Linked DNA regions of Homo sapiens: regions 1 and 3 are each linked to region 2. Evidence: promoter capture Hi-C in 16 types of primary human blood cells and fetal thymus (Javierre and others, 2016). All regions are on one chromosome and are shown on one strand. Each heading gives the region's core, a stretch centred on a gene start or on the middle of the fragment in contact. The rest is flanking DNA. Distances are from core to core; before and after follow the strand shown. Region 1 holds the start of DTWD2 (DTW motif tRNA-uridine aminocarboxypropyltransferase 2). Region 2 holds the start of TMED7 (transmembrane p24 trafficking protein 7). Region 3 overlaps EPB41L4A (erythrocyte membrane protein band 4.1 like 4A).

Region 1 (4,188 bases), core at 37-2,536, 3.4 Mb after region 2:
CCATCCTCCTCAGAGGTTTACTGAGCGTCAACTATACATAGTACATTTAGAAAATATAAAAACATTCTACATTCAAGATCCTTTCCTCTGAAGTCTTACAATCCAGCCCTAGGAAAAGGTCAAAATGTCCAAAGTGTGATACTCCAAGTATTCAAGCAGTAAAGATCTTCAACCATATTCAGTCCTTCTGTTCCCCTTCTTGGAATGCTTTTCCCCTGGCTGGATTCTTCTCATCTTTCAAATCTCAGAGATAGTTCATGACACCATTGAGCTATTTTCTACAGTAGCAACCCATTCCTTTCCTTCACTGCTTTTTTCCCAGTTTGTAATTACATATTTGATTGCTTGTTTGCTGGTTTATTATCCGTATCCAGTAAGAGAATACTCTACAAAAACATGAACTCCACTGCATTGTCAGTGATTACCAAAGCACTCAATAAACACCTGATAAATTAATGCACAGGTCTGGTGTTCCGAAGAAAGGTCTGAGCTAGACACACTGGGATATAGATGATAATTTACCATGAAAACTGATTTTATAAATTACCAGTGGGACGTATGTAGGGTTTGAAGAGAACCTAGAATGAACACCTGAAAAGGCCCTATATTTAGAGTTCTGGTAGGATAGGTAAAGGAGACTGTCTCTCTCCTCCAATCCACTTTATGCTTTTTAACTGTGATATAACTATGCCACTTAAATATGACTGTGTAACTATTTTACAAGTATTACTGTCATCACCCCTTACTTCCCCTATTGGACGCTTAAGTTTCTTGGAAACAGAACTGATGTCTGCTCATCCCATGATACGCTCAGCATATTGCAGGAAGTAAGGTTAGATAATCATGAACCTGGAAAAAGGGCTTCTTACTAGGTAGCTGTGCCTGGCATTTCCGAGATTTCCAACGTGCACCCGCCAACTCCGCCGCCCTAATCGCAGAGCTGCCCGAGCCGCCGACTCCCCGGCAGGGGGCGCCGCACCCTCCTCCGAAGGCCGCTGCCGGCTGCAGTCCCCGCCCCCAGCCCCGCGGTCACCTGCAGCGGGTGCACTCAGGCCTCCGCTCGGCCGGCTCCACCGGCAGCTCCCACAGCCCGTCCGCACTGTCGTCGTCCGCCTCTGCGCCCAGGGCAGCCGCCGCCGGCACTGCGCCGCCCTCCCGCCGCTCCTTGTCGTTCGGCGTCTGAGAGCTTGAGGCCCCAGAAGGCCGCGCAACGGGCTCCTGGAGTGTTCGTGCCTCTTTCTGCGACTCCATGGCGGACACTCCGGTCAGGCCGTGGCATTGAAGCCCGGCTGCCGCCGGGGGGCGCCACGCGCTGTAGAAACCGGCCCGCGCCGCGTAGCGCAATGCCCGCACGCCACGTACGGGGGGCGGGTCTCCGAAGCCCAGGCTGGAGGTCCCACCCTGCCGCTGGGAAGGAACGAGCCCATTGGTCCGTGCCCAGTGGGACCGTTCACCTAGAACTGGGTAGGCAAGTGTGGGCAGTGTTGGAGTGCTGGTGAGGTTAAGTAGCGTCATTGGGAGAGGTAAGGGAAACCTCCCCGAGAGGACCCCAGTACCAAGCCCGAATTTAACTCCTTTAAAAGTTAAAATAAAATGGAATTCTGCATTTTCCGCCTTGGGATGGCAGTTTAAGAATTTGCAGGATTTCCACGCGTGCATGCATCGCAGGTGCGGCAGCTGATGCACTTATTATTTAAAGGCCAACAAAGGAGAGGTTATATCCACTGGGAACTACTCACAGCTGGTCCGTTTCCTTATGTGAATTTCCTGCTCTTCTATGTCTTGTGCTAATAAGACATCAAGCATGCTATTTTACACTGGACACCAGATATTTGTTAAATTAGATTTTTAGATCGTCCCCGATCAGGAAGCAATAGGAGAGCTGGCCCGGGGTACCAATAGGTTTTATGTATGAGGAAACAAGCCCTAGAAAGGTAACGTTGCCCAGGTATTTAACAACTACTGGATACGGCGGTATATAGCACAGCAGCTGTTTTTTAAAAGCCAAAATGAAATCTATGTTAGAATGAAGGCAGAAATACTATTTACCCAAAATGGGTATCGAATTCCTTTTGTTTATTAATGCTTTGTGTTACTTCCAGCAATACACAACATTAAAACAGAATTAAGCTTGGTTTTGATCAATCATGTGAATTAAGCTTAGGAATCACAGTTGTCTTAACTCTATAGTTGTAATAGATTAAATGTGAGGCAAAGTAGACAACACAGTAATAGAGCAAATACTGTATTTCTTAAAATGTTTATTTCACATTAGATTTTTCAGTCATCTTAAAATCAAGTTTGTGAATAAAATACCGTGCTGTTTTCAACTATCCTACGTTCTTTCCCCCCGGAAACAGCACCTCTCTTTTCCTTTGGAGCGTCCTATGTGAGGGATAGAAAAAGGCTGAAACACCCACCTGGTGATGGACGTAGAGTGGGAGAAAGAACTAGCAATTATGCCATTTGGAATCGGAGGATAAACAAAATCCAGAAACTGTAGGAAAGGAGATGAATCAGAAAATTCATCTTGTCTGTAGATTTAGGTTGGGGAACCAATTCTTTAACTGCCAAAATTAAATTCTCATGTGACTTATCTTTAAACGAAAGGAAGCTGCTCATCTTTAATTTCAAGAGGTGAAATGTGCTCAAGTCCTCTAAGGTCCCTTGAGACTCCCAATTGTGTGGTGTGAGAAGACAGATGATAAGGAAAAAAAAAAAAACTTTTTATCTAAGGAATGCGAGCAGTCATGTCTCACTCTCCCTTGAGCTAAATAATTACCTCTTGAAGGCACTTGCTATGCAGGCCCTAGACTGACACCGAGTAGCCATAAAACGCCGTATACCCTATAGTTCAACAATATGTATAGCCAATCACTAACCAATGTTATTTCTGTAAATAAATGACACTTCCTGAGACATAGCTTTTGTAATGCCCCCCTCTGCTGATTCGTTCTCTTTTCTTTAAAAACTCCAGCCCATTTTGTTCTCCAGAGCACTCTCCACAGCAACCTGGAAGTACGACCTAGGCTACAGTCCTCAACGTTGGCCCAAATAAACTCTCTATATTAATTTTGCCTCTGCTCCTTCCTTTTAGGTTGATGTGAGCCTACTTACTTGGGGCTTCCTTTTAACACCCCATATCAGATTATTGGCTTTACCCTTCAAAGTATTCAAAATCCAAACATTTATCTCACCTACTACTTCTGCCCTGGTTCAAGCCCCCGTCATCTCTTGCATAGAATATTGCCAAAGACCTAAGTGGTCTCCTGCTCCATCTCCGCTCCTTATGAAGAAAATCCCCTACAAGTCCATTGTCTCAGAGGCTGACCAAAATCAAAGAAAGCTTCCATCCAGGCAAGACACAGAGTTGAGAAAGGAGAGCCATTTTCCTCTATAGGAAGCAAGAAATTCACCCAATATCCAGGTTTGTGAACAATGACCTTCAGACGCCTGAGGAAACATGCAGGTGAGGTTACCACCTTGGGGCAGACCCAGGTATCAGACCATCAGTGACTCAGCTTCTGGGAAGTGCCAAGACACCAGAAAGGGAAGTAAAATATCCTTTATGGGATACAGACAACTTACTAGTGTCAAGATAATGTATTGAGGTGTTAATGTATGTTTTGTTTATCTCCCAACTTCAGGTAGAAAACCAGACTTTTATGCTCCTTTGCCTCAGAGGAGTTTGGGTAGTAAAGACTGAGGACAATCTTAGGTCCACGCCTGGTGTTGTGGGAAAAGGAGATCCTGTTACTGGTAGAGGAAAGGGCCTCAGTAATGTAAGGGATTGAATATCCTGCCAGGCCTGCAGTATGAGGATTCAGCATTGTATAAGATTTGATTTAAATGAAATAAAAACATGGTATTTTTTGCTATATTCATTTTCTATCACTGTGGAACTAATAACCACAAATTTAGTGGCTTTTTCCTTTGTTTTTTTTTTTTTTTTTGAGATGGAGTCTCGCTCTGCCGCCCAGGCTGGAGAGTAGTGGCGTGATCTGGGCTCACTGCGACCTCCGCCTCCCGGGTTCAAGCAATTCTGCCTCAGCCTCCCGAGTAGCTGGGACTACAGGCTGCGTGCCACCATGTCAGGCCAGTTCTTTTTTTTTTTTTTTTTTTTTTTTTTTTGAGACGGAGTCTCGCTCTGTTGCCCAGGTCGGACTGCGGACTGCAGTGGCGCAATCT
Region 2 (3,866 bases), core at 512-3,011:
TCCTTGGCCTCCCCTCCCTGACCCACTATAGCCAAATCATTACCAAGTCCTGTTGATTCTACCTACTACCTTCTCTCCAATCCTTTCACTTTTCATTTACCCCACTGCTATCACTCTACTCTAAGCCACTATCATTTCTTGTCTAGACCACCATAATAACCTCCTAATCAGCCTTCCACATCCGCTCTGCAACATCTTACCATCACTTCTCTACCTGCACAAGTTATTATTAATGCAGCTACCAAGAATATTCTCGTCATATCACTGAACTGCTTATAACCCTCTGATGGCTTCCTACACTTTCAGGAAAAACAAATCCTTAACATGGTCAGCAAGACACTATCTGGCCTGCCCCTGCTGACCCCCTTGCTCTGGCTCCTTATTCCCAACCATATTGGACCTCTCTCTATGGCCCTGAAATTCTCAGTGTTCACTACTACCACAGGCTATTCCCCCTCCTCCCTTACCAAGGTGTTTATAGCTCATCCTTTAAAGTTCAGCTTAAAATAATTTTCCAAAGGAAGTCTTCCTTCATGGATCCTACTTACTGCTCTTAAGGCACAGTTCTGATGAATGAGCAGATACCAGTTAAGAAAAGCAGGGTGAGAGGGGAATCATGAATGATGGCAGTGACCCTATCTGTTTCGACCACTTCTGTACCACTGGCACCTAGTATTCAATAGCTACTCAAATGTTAAATGCGCCTACCAACCAAAATTGAAGCTCAGTAAAGACTGTTCTAACCAACCGAATAAACCACATTCTGTTAAAGTTTCTTTTTTATATAATCCCAAATATCAGAAGGGGCCTCTCATTTATCACAGCAATTCTTTCTACAACTCCCTTGGCAAATGGCCGTTCAACCTGTAATGGAGCTCTTCCAATGACAAGGACCGTATTAACCAACAGTCCTAATATTGGTAAAACTGAAAAGCAATGAAGTTAGACATTGGCAGCACTCCAAATCCAATTAAATTGGAGGTGTGGATTAGAGAGTAGAGGGTTGACACTGGGTACTACAGAGTATAAATGATTTTCTTTAAGGGAATCTTTTAAGGAAGAAAGTTCAATAGGCCTTAAAAATGAGATGGAAAGAAATGCTAAAGGGAGCATTTCTGGAATTCATATATTTTAACACCCGGTCTTAACATCTCTCACCCAAGGTTTATTAGAGGAAAGTCAAATGCTGGGCATCAGCTACCTAGAAGCGATTTTTGAATTAGCCTAAGAACGGGGAAACACGGACAGGAAAGTGCCATCCCTCAAGTTACACCCCCAATCCTGGAGCCGCGAGTTGGGGCCCAGGGACTGCTAGGCCCCTGATACCTGGAACTCCAGGGTGCACTTGGTGCCCTGAGCGATGTCCTCGTAGAAGCACTGCTTGGCGTTGTCAGGAAGCTCGAAGGTGATCTCAGAGGCGCCGCCGGGTCCAGGCACCAGTAGCAGCAGTGCGAGCAGCCTGCACCCCCAACGGCCCGCGACGGCCGCCCAGCGCTGCGCGGACCCCGGCCGCGGCATCCCGAGAAGGCGGCGGCGGCCTCAACCGAGCTGCGAGACGCAGGGTCAGGTCTGCGCGGACTCACCGCGCGCGGCAGGCCTCAGCGCAGGCCACCCCGCAAAGATACACAGCAGAGCAGGTTCACGCCTGTGGGAGATTCGGGATCAGAGCGACCCTCCGGCTTCCTGTGAGGGGCGCAGACGGGCGGACCTGGGGAGGTAAAAGAGAAGCGGAAAAGGCCTGAGAGGGTCGGAAGTGGGGATTAGCCTTTCGGGGGGTGAAGGGGCGGAGCCTGAGACACCGGCTCCCGTGACCCGGATGCGTTCTTCTCCGGGAACACGCGTTGGAGTGCGTACGTGGAAGCCCGCGAGGCGTTGGCTCTGCCTCCGTTGCAGCCTGGGACGAGGGGCGGGGCCAGAGTCGTGGGCGGAGAGGGGCGAGACCAGGAAACGGGGCGTGGCGGCCGCCGTGGTTACAGGCGGTTGGCGAGGGTAATTACGCTCCAATCACTGGCTTTTTTTGTTGTTTTTTTTTTTTTTTTTTTGAGACAAGAGTCTCGCCCTGTCACCCAGGCTGGAGTGCAGTGGCGCGATCTGCGCTCACTGCAACCTCCGCTGGGAACTTAGCGCTGGGGAGCATCTAGGGAGTGGTAAAGGGCTCATTTTGCCCTAGGGTGCTAATCGTTGGTGGTAGAGCGCTTTGCAATTTGCGGAGTTTTCTCATAAGTAATAATAAATATTTGGGGGAAGCAGCTGGGCAAGGAGCGCGAATTCTAAGAGCAGACTGCAGGAGTGCTTAATCCCTGCTTTGCCACGTACTGGCTGTGTGACGTCCGGCCACTTGCTTAAATTCTCTGCCTCAGTGTGTATCTGTAGAATGGAGATAATAGCACCTACCATAGAGAATTATTACAAAGTACCAATATTTGGAAAAAGTACCTAGAAGTGGTTGGTACATAGCAAGCACTAGATGAACTTTTGTTAAATTAAACGTCACAGTGCAATCAATACATTACATACCACAAGATAGGCAAAAATTTTAAGTGTAACAATAACAGATATTGGTCGACTTATAGAGCCACAAAACCTCTTATACACTGCTAGTGAAAAAGTAAATTGGTTAATCAAGTTGGAAAACAATGTGCCATTATCTAATAAAGTAGAATATATGTATACACACACAGAACACACACACCTATATACAGTGTGTGTGTGTGTGTGTGTATATATGTATATATATATATATATATATAGCCTGGAATATGTAGCCACAGCCTGGAAATTCCATTTTACATATATTTATGGAGTATATGCTTTAGAGCAGTGGTTCTCAAGTGTTGCTCTGAAGTCCCCAGAAGCCTCCTGAAACCCTTTCAGAGGGTATGTAATGATCTGTATGAAGCTGGATTTTCATTATATATTTCAACCAAAACAGCATAACAGATTGAATATCAAAGGAAATGAGCACCCAGCTTCTTCCTTAAATCTAGATATGAAAGATTTACAAAAATAAGGTCACTCTTCTTGCTAAATTTTTATTTCGAAAATATTTTTATTAAAAGATGTGTTATTTATGTAAATGTGTGCAGTGAGTTGAATTGTGTCCCCCTAAAAAATACATGTCCAAGTTTCAACCCCTCCACCCCTGTGAATATGATTTTATTTGGAAATAGGGCTTTTGCAGATGTAATTAAGTTAAGGCCCTCAAGATGAGGTCATCCTGGGACTTAGGGTGGGCCCTAAATCTAAAGACTGTTATCCTTATGGTATGGTTTGGCTGTGTCTCCACCCAAATATCATCTTGAATTGTAGTTCCCATAATCCCCACATGTCACGGAAGGGACCCGGTGGGAGGTAATTGAATCATGGAGGCAGATTTTTCCCATGCTGTTCTGGTGATAGTGAATAAGTCTCATGAGATCTGATGGTTTTATTGTAGTTCCCATAATCCCCATGTGTCATGGGAGGGACCTGGTGGGAGGTAACTGAATCATGGGGGCGGGTTCTTCCCATTCATTTATGTTTCCCATAAAGCAGTATTGTGTTTATAATGCATTATTTGTGTTTATAAACATATAATGCACGTATAATGCATTATTCATGTTTATAAACATTGTTCATGTTTTATAACAGGTAGTTAGCTACATGAGATCTCATGGTTTTATAAAGGGCAGTTCCCCTGAACACGCTCTCTTGCCTGCTGCCATGTAAGACGTGCTTTTGCTGTGCCTTCACCCTCCACCATGATTGTGAGGCCTCCCCAGCCATGTGGAACTATCAATTCATTTAACTTATTCTTTGTAAATTACCCTGTCTTGGGTATTTCTTCATAGCAGTATGAACATGGACTAACACACCTTATAAGAGGA
Region 3 (3,737 bases), core at 1-2,500, 3.5 Mb before region 2:
GTACATTCGTAGTGTTGCTCTGTCTGTAGCTATTAAGGTGAGTTAATAAATGGGATAGCCTCCACAGCTTATTTTTGGGAAGGTTTTGCTGATACTTCCTGAGAAGCCCAGGGAAATAAATACGCATAGTACTGGCATTCTGCATCTCTTTAAGATTTGTTTTTATGTGTAGTAATTGAGTTTTTTAAAAGCTTGTGAAATCGCAGGCATATTACCAAGTTCTTGATTAAAATGTAATACAAAAATATTTGCTGTCGAATTGAGTACTTTATTTTTTCTCTTAGGATGTCCTTGGTGAGGATTTTGAAAATTTGATCTTCACAAGAGTTGCCTGGATCATTTGAAATTTCTGGGAGTCTGAGGAGTACTGACATAATTACCTGCTGGAGTCTGTAAATACACATTTAAGACAGTGAGGATGTGAATAAATATATTAATGCACTTTGGCATTTGTGTTTTAAGTGATTAACTGCCAGAAACAGCTATTTCTAAAAAGTTATAAGGGAGGAGGGGTTCTTTTTTGATCAGTATTCACTGCTGTCACCATAATTAATAGCCTTAAAATAGCTTGTGTTTGGCCCAAAGAGAAATGTACTTTCTTCCAGTGACTCAAAAATCGTGGCTAGAACTAGACTGATTTCTAGTGACAGGTGTGCTTTACTGCACTCAATGCGTATTTTTCCTCCAACTAAATTGTACATTTAATGTTGCCATATCTTCTGCCTTTGCTTTGCAGGAAACGACAAATAATGTATAGAGGTATTCAAAAAATTTATTGAAAGCACTGTACTAGGAGCTGAGAACACGATGATGAGCACAACACAGTTCTTCCCTTTGGAAACATAGATAAGTGGAGGGAATGTCATCACAAATGTAAAACTTCACTATGAGATGAGTTCCGTGATAGGATTTTCTTAGGGAAACCTGAGAAAGAGTTGAGACTAAAGGTATGTGTCATATTTTTCACAAGGCAAAACTGGGGGAATGACATATACAGAGGCTTGGGCTAGAAAAAAGATACCGTTAGTCCACTTACTTTTGAGACAGTTTTGGCTGCTTTCCCTCTTCAGTGCCCTGTTTTAGAACTGAGTCCTTACTGAGGCTTGTAAGATGGCTATTATGGGAGGTGAGAGTGTTACAAAATGAGGCTGAAGAGGTAGGTAAAGAAGCCAGACCACTTCAGGCTCCCTCTGGCTTTATTAAAGCAAGATAAATCCATGGTGGAAAATCAGATTTGCAAGAAAAGGTAGTTGAACTAGGTTGCTTATTGTTGTCTAGACAAGAGACCAGCTTGGACTAGTAAAATTAGTGAAATAAGATCGTTTATAGTTGGATGACAGAGCCAACTAGACGTGGTAATAGTGGAGGTGTCCATAACTGCTAGGTGTCCAGCTTGCACACTGATGAGCATAATGACCCTAGATTCAGCTGGGGAGCAGCATTTAAACAGCTGAATTTTTAAATTACCTTTGAGAAACCCAAATGGTCTTTTTGCAGTAGCACATTACTCAGTAGTCTAAACTACAGAAATAAACCTTAAGGCCATGGGTATAAATGAGATCTGCTGGTGGTAGAGGAAGAGGGCCTAGGGTCTGAAGTTTGAGAAACTCCACTAATTAATGGCAAGGTAAAGCATGATAAGCCAGAAAGGATGGTCAGTGGTAGGAGCAAAATAGGATTATATTAAAGAAGCAAAAGAATGTCCTAAAAATTCTCCCTGGGATTAAGTAACACAGTGATTGATATTAGTGGAGTAGAGGGAAAGATCCATGTTAGAGATAGCTTAAGATAGGGATTAGATGAATTGAGGGCAATGACTAAAGATACTGCTTGCAAGAAAACTGGCTGAGAATGAGAGGAAAATCTTAGTTGCTTGGCGGGAGGGGGTTTGTGGTTGTGAAAGATAGTTTTGTTTAATCTTAGTCTTAAATTTAAAACCAAGTAGCAAGGATCTAGCTGAGAGAATAATTGAATACATTAATATAGGAGGACAGACAAAGATCCTGAAAAGGCTGGGAGAAGAGCATCCAAAGCACAGGTGGAGAGACAAAAAGGTTAGGGCTGCTGGCAGCTGTGGAGAGAACTGTACGTGGTAAGGGGGAGATATAAGATGTCCTGCATAAGTATTTTCCCTGTAGATTGCAAAGTCATCTATGGAGAGGAAAGGTACAAAATAGTCACTGGGGAGAGCAGGTGAATTAGATGGCCAAGCAGGGTGGATGGATCATTTGAGGTTTGGGGTGACAGATCAACTGAGATCCACTTACACTTCTGAAAACGCAAGAACACTTTAGAAATTAACAACACTTAAAGCTTTTTACATCATTTGTAAATAACTGGTGGAACTTAACACCACAAAATAAAGTATTATAAAGAACTTTATATGAATAAAAATATATGCAGTCTGAAAGTGATGCCTCAGTCCTTTTGCATCTGGGCACTAGTTGAGAACCAGCCCAGCCCTGGGAAGACGTCCTCCCACTTGTACTATTGCACAGCAGGCTAGCTGCAGTTCAGAATTCCAGAATGTTCATCAGATGCATCTGGTCTTGGTTGTGGTGGACACAGACACAAGATAGAAATGAATGATTGCTATCCTGTTCCAGAAATGAAAATGTGGTATCAAGTGAATTTTTACAAAATACTTATTCTTCCAGTTAAAACAAAAAGGTCCTTCAGCACAACTGTGCTGTAGTTAAACCATGGCCTATAATCCCAGCACTTTGGGAGGCTGAGGCAGGCGGATCACTTGAGGTCAGGAGTTCGAGACCAGCCTCCAACATGGCAAAGCCCTGTCTCTACTAAAAATACAAAAAGAATTAGCCGGGTGTTGTGGTGCACGCCTGTAATCCCAGCTGCTCGGGAGCCTGAGACAGGAGAATCGCTTAACCCAGTAAGTGGAGGCTGCGGTGAGCTGACACGGTGCCGCTGCACTCCAGCCTGGGCGACAGAGTGATAACATCTCAAAAAAAAAAAAAAAAAGAAGCAAAAGATAATGTATTTTCTCATGCTGAAGAAATACTTGCAGGTCTGAGATTTGAATTAAGATACCTATTTCACAGTTTCAAAAGTACCAGTGGCGCACACAACCTTCCCACCCCTACCCTTGACCCTTCATCAGGATCAAGTCTCTGTCTTGAGGCGGGAAGCTTGTATAGTTTTTATTGTTTTTGCTGTGTGTTTTCCAGCCAGGTTGTTTGTAGATGTCTGAGGTTTTTCTTCCATCAGGCTATCTTTAGACCCATTTCTTCTCTAAAATATATTTGAAAAATGTAGAAAGATTCAGAAGAAAACAGCCAAATGAAGTATTTTAATTACATCAGAAACCAAGCTGCTCTTAAATTTAAGATACTGAGTTAATTCAAAAGTTTCATAATACCAAAAGCTATTCAATAAATGTTCCCTCTAAATAGCTGTGCAAAATAAAGTTTGTATTTAAACTTTAATATACAAAGTTAGTCTGACATTTACATGCATAACGATTTTATTCATGAATATTAGGCATAATTCACCCAAATCAGTGTCATTACTTTTGTTAACAATTCCCAAACCAGGCTCTCAACCTCACTCTTCCAAACAGGATAGTGATGGAGACTTGGAGGCAATTTATAATCCCCTGATTATATTTTCAGTAGTCAATGAATGGAACAATGTCTTGTGAGCCCCTATCACTTGTCTCATACGGAGAAACAGGGCAGCTCATTACCAGAGCCTGGGCACCACATCCACTAGTTTGT

What was found. Contacts are between HindIII fragments. The CHiCAGO score rates a contact against its expected background, and 5 or more counts as called.
Region 1: a contact is called between the fragment with the promoter of DTWD2 here and the fragment with the promoter of TMED7 in region 2, in 1 of 17 cell types (total CD8 T cells). The highest score is 6.0, in total CD8 T cells.
Region 3: a contact is called between a fragment that was not itself captured here and the fragment with the promoter of TMED7 in region 2, in 1 of 17 cell types (total CD4 T cells). The highest score is 8.5, in total CD4 T cells.

Annotation. Positions count from the first base shown.
Region 1 is chr5:118,987,261-118,991,448 of GRCh38, forward strand. It overlaps DTWD2 (DTW motif tRNA-uridine aminocarboxypropyltransferase 2), which reads right to left and starts at 1,287. Exons shown (of 6, transcript NM_173666.4): 1 at 1,034-1,287. The coding sequence starts at 1,251. RefSeq lists a silencer at 871-1,200. The HindIII fragment of the contact is 4,492 bases long and covers 1-2,128 here.
Region 2 is chr5:115,624,275-115,628,140 of GRCh38, forward strand. It overlaps TMED7 (transmembrane p24 trafficking protein 7), which reads right to left and starts at 1,762. Exons shown (of 3, transcript NM_181836.6): 1 at 1,327-1,762. The coding sequence starts at 1,518. It overlaps TMED7-TICAM2 (TMED7-TICAM2 readthrough), which reads right to left and starts at 1,762. Exons shown (of 4, transcript NM_001164469.4): 1 at 1,327-1,762. The coding sequence starts at 1,518. RefSeq lists a silencer at 1,418-1,487 and an enhancer at 1,658-1,827. The HindIII fragment of the contact is 9,571 bases long and covers 1-3,866 here.
Region 3 is chr5:112,161,867-112,165,603 of GRCh38, forward strand. It overlaps EPB41L4A (erythrocyte membrane protein band 4.1 like 4A), which reads right to left. Exons shown (of 23, transcript NM_022140.5): 23 at 753-3,252. The coding sequence ends at 3,124. EPB41L4A-AS1 (EPB41L4A antisense RNA 1) reads left to right here. Exons shown (of 3, transcript NR_015370.2): 3 at 285-635. Among named protein-coding and RNA genes, the nearest start is that of SNORA13, 2.2 kb to the left of the region's middle. RefSeq lists an enhancer at 3,598-3,737. The HindIII fragment of the contact is 2,122 bases long and covers 190-2,311 here.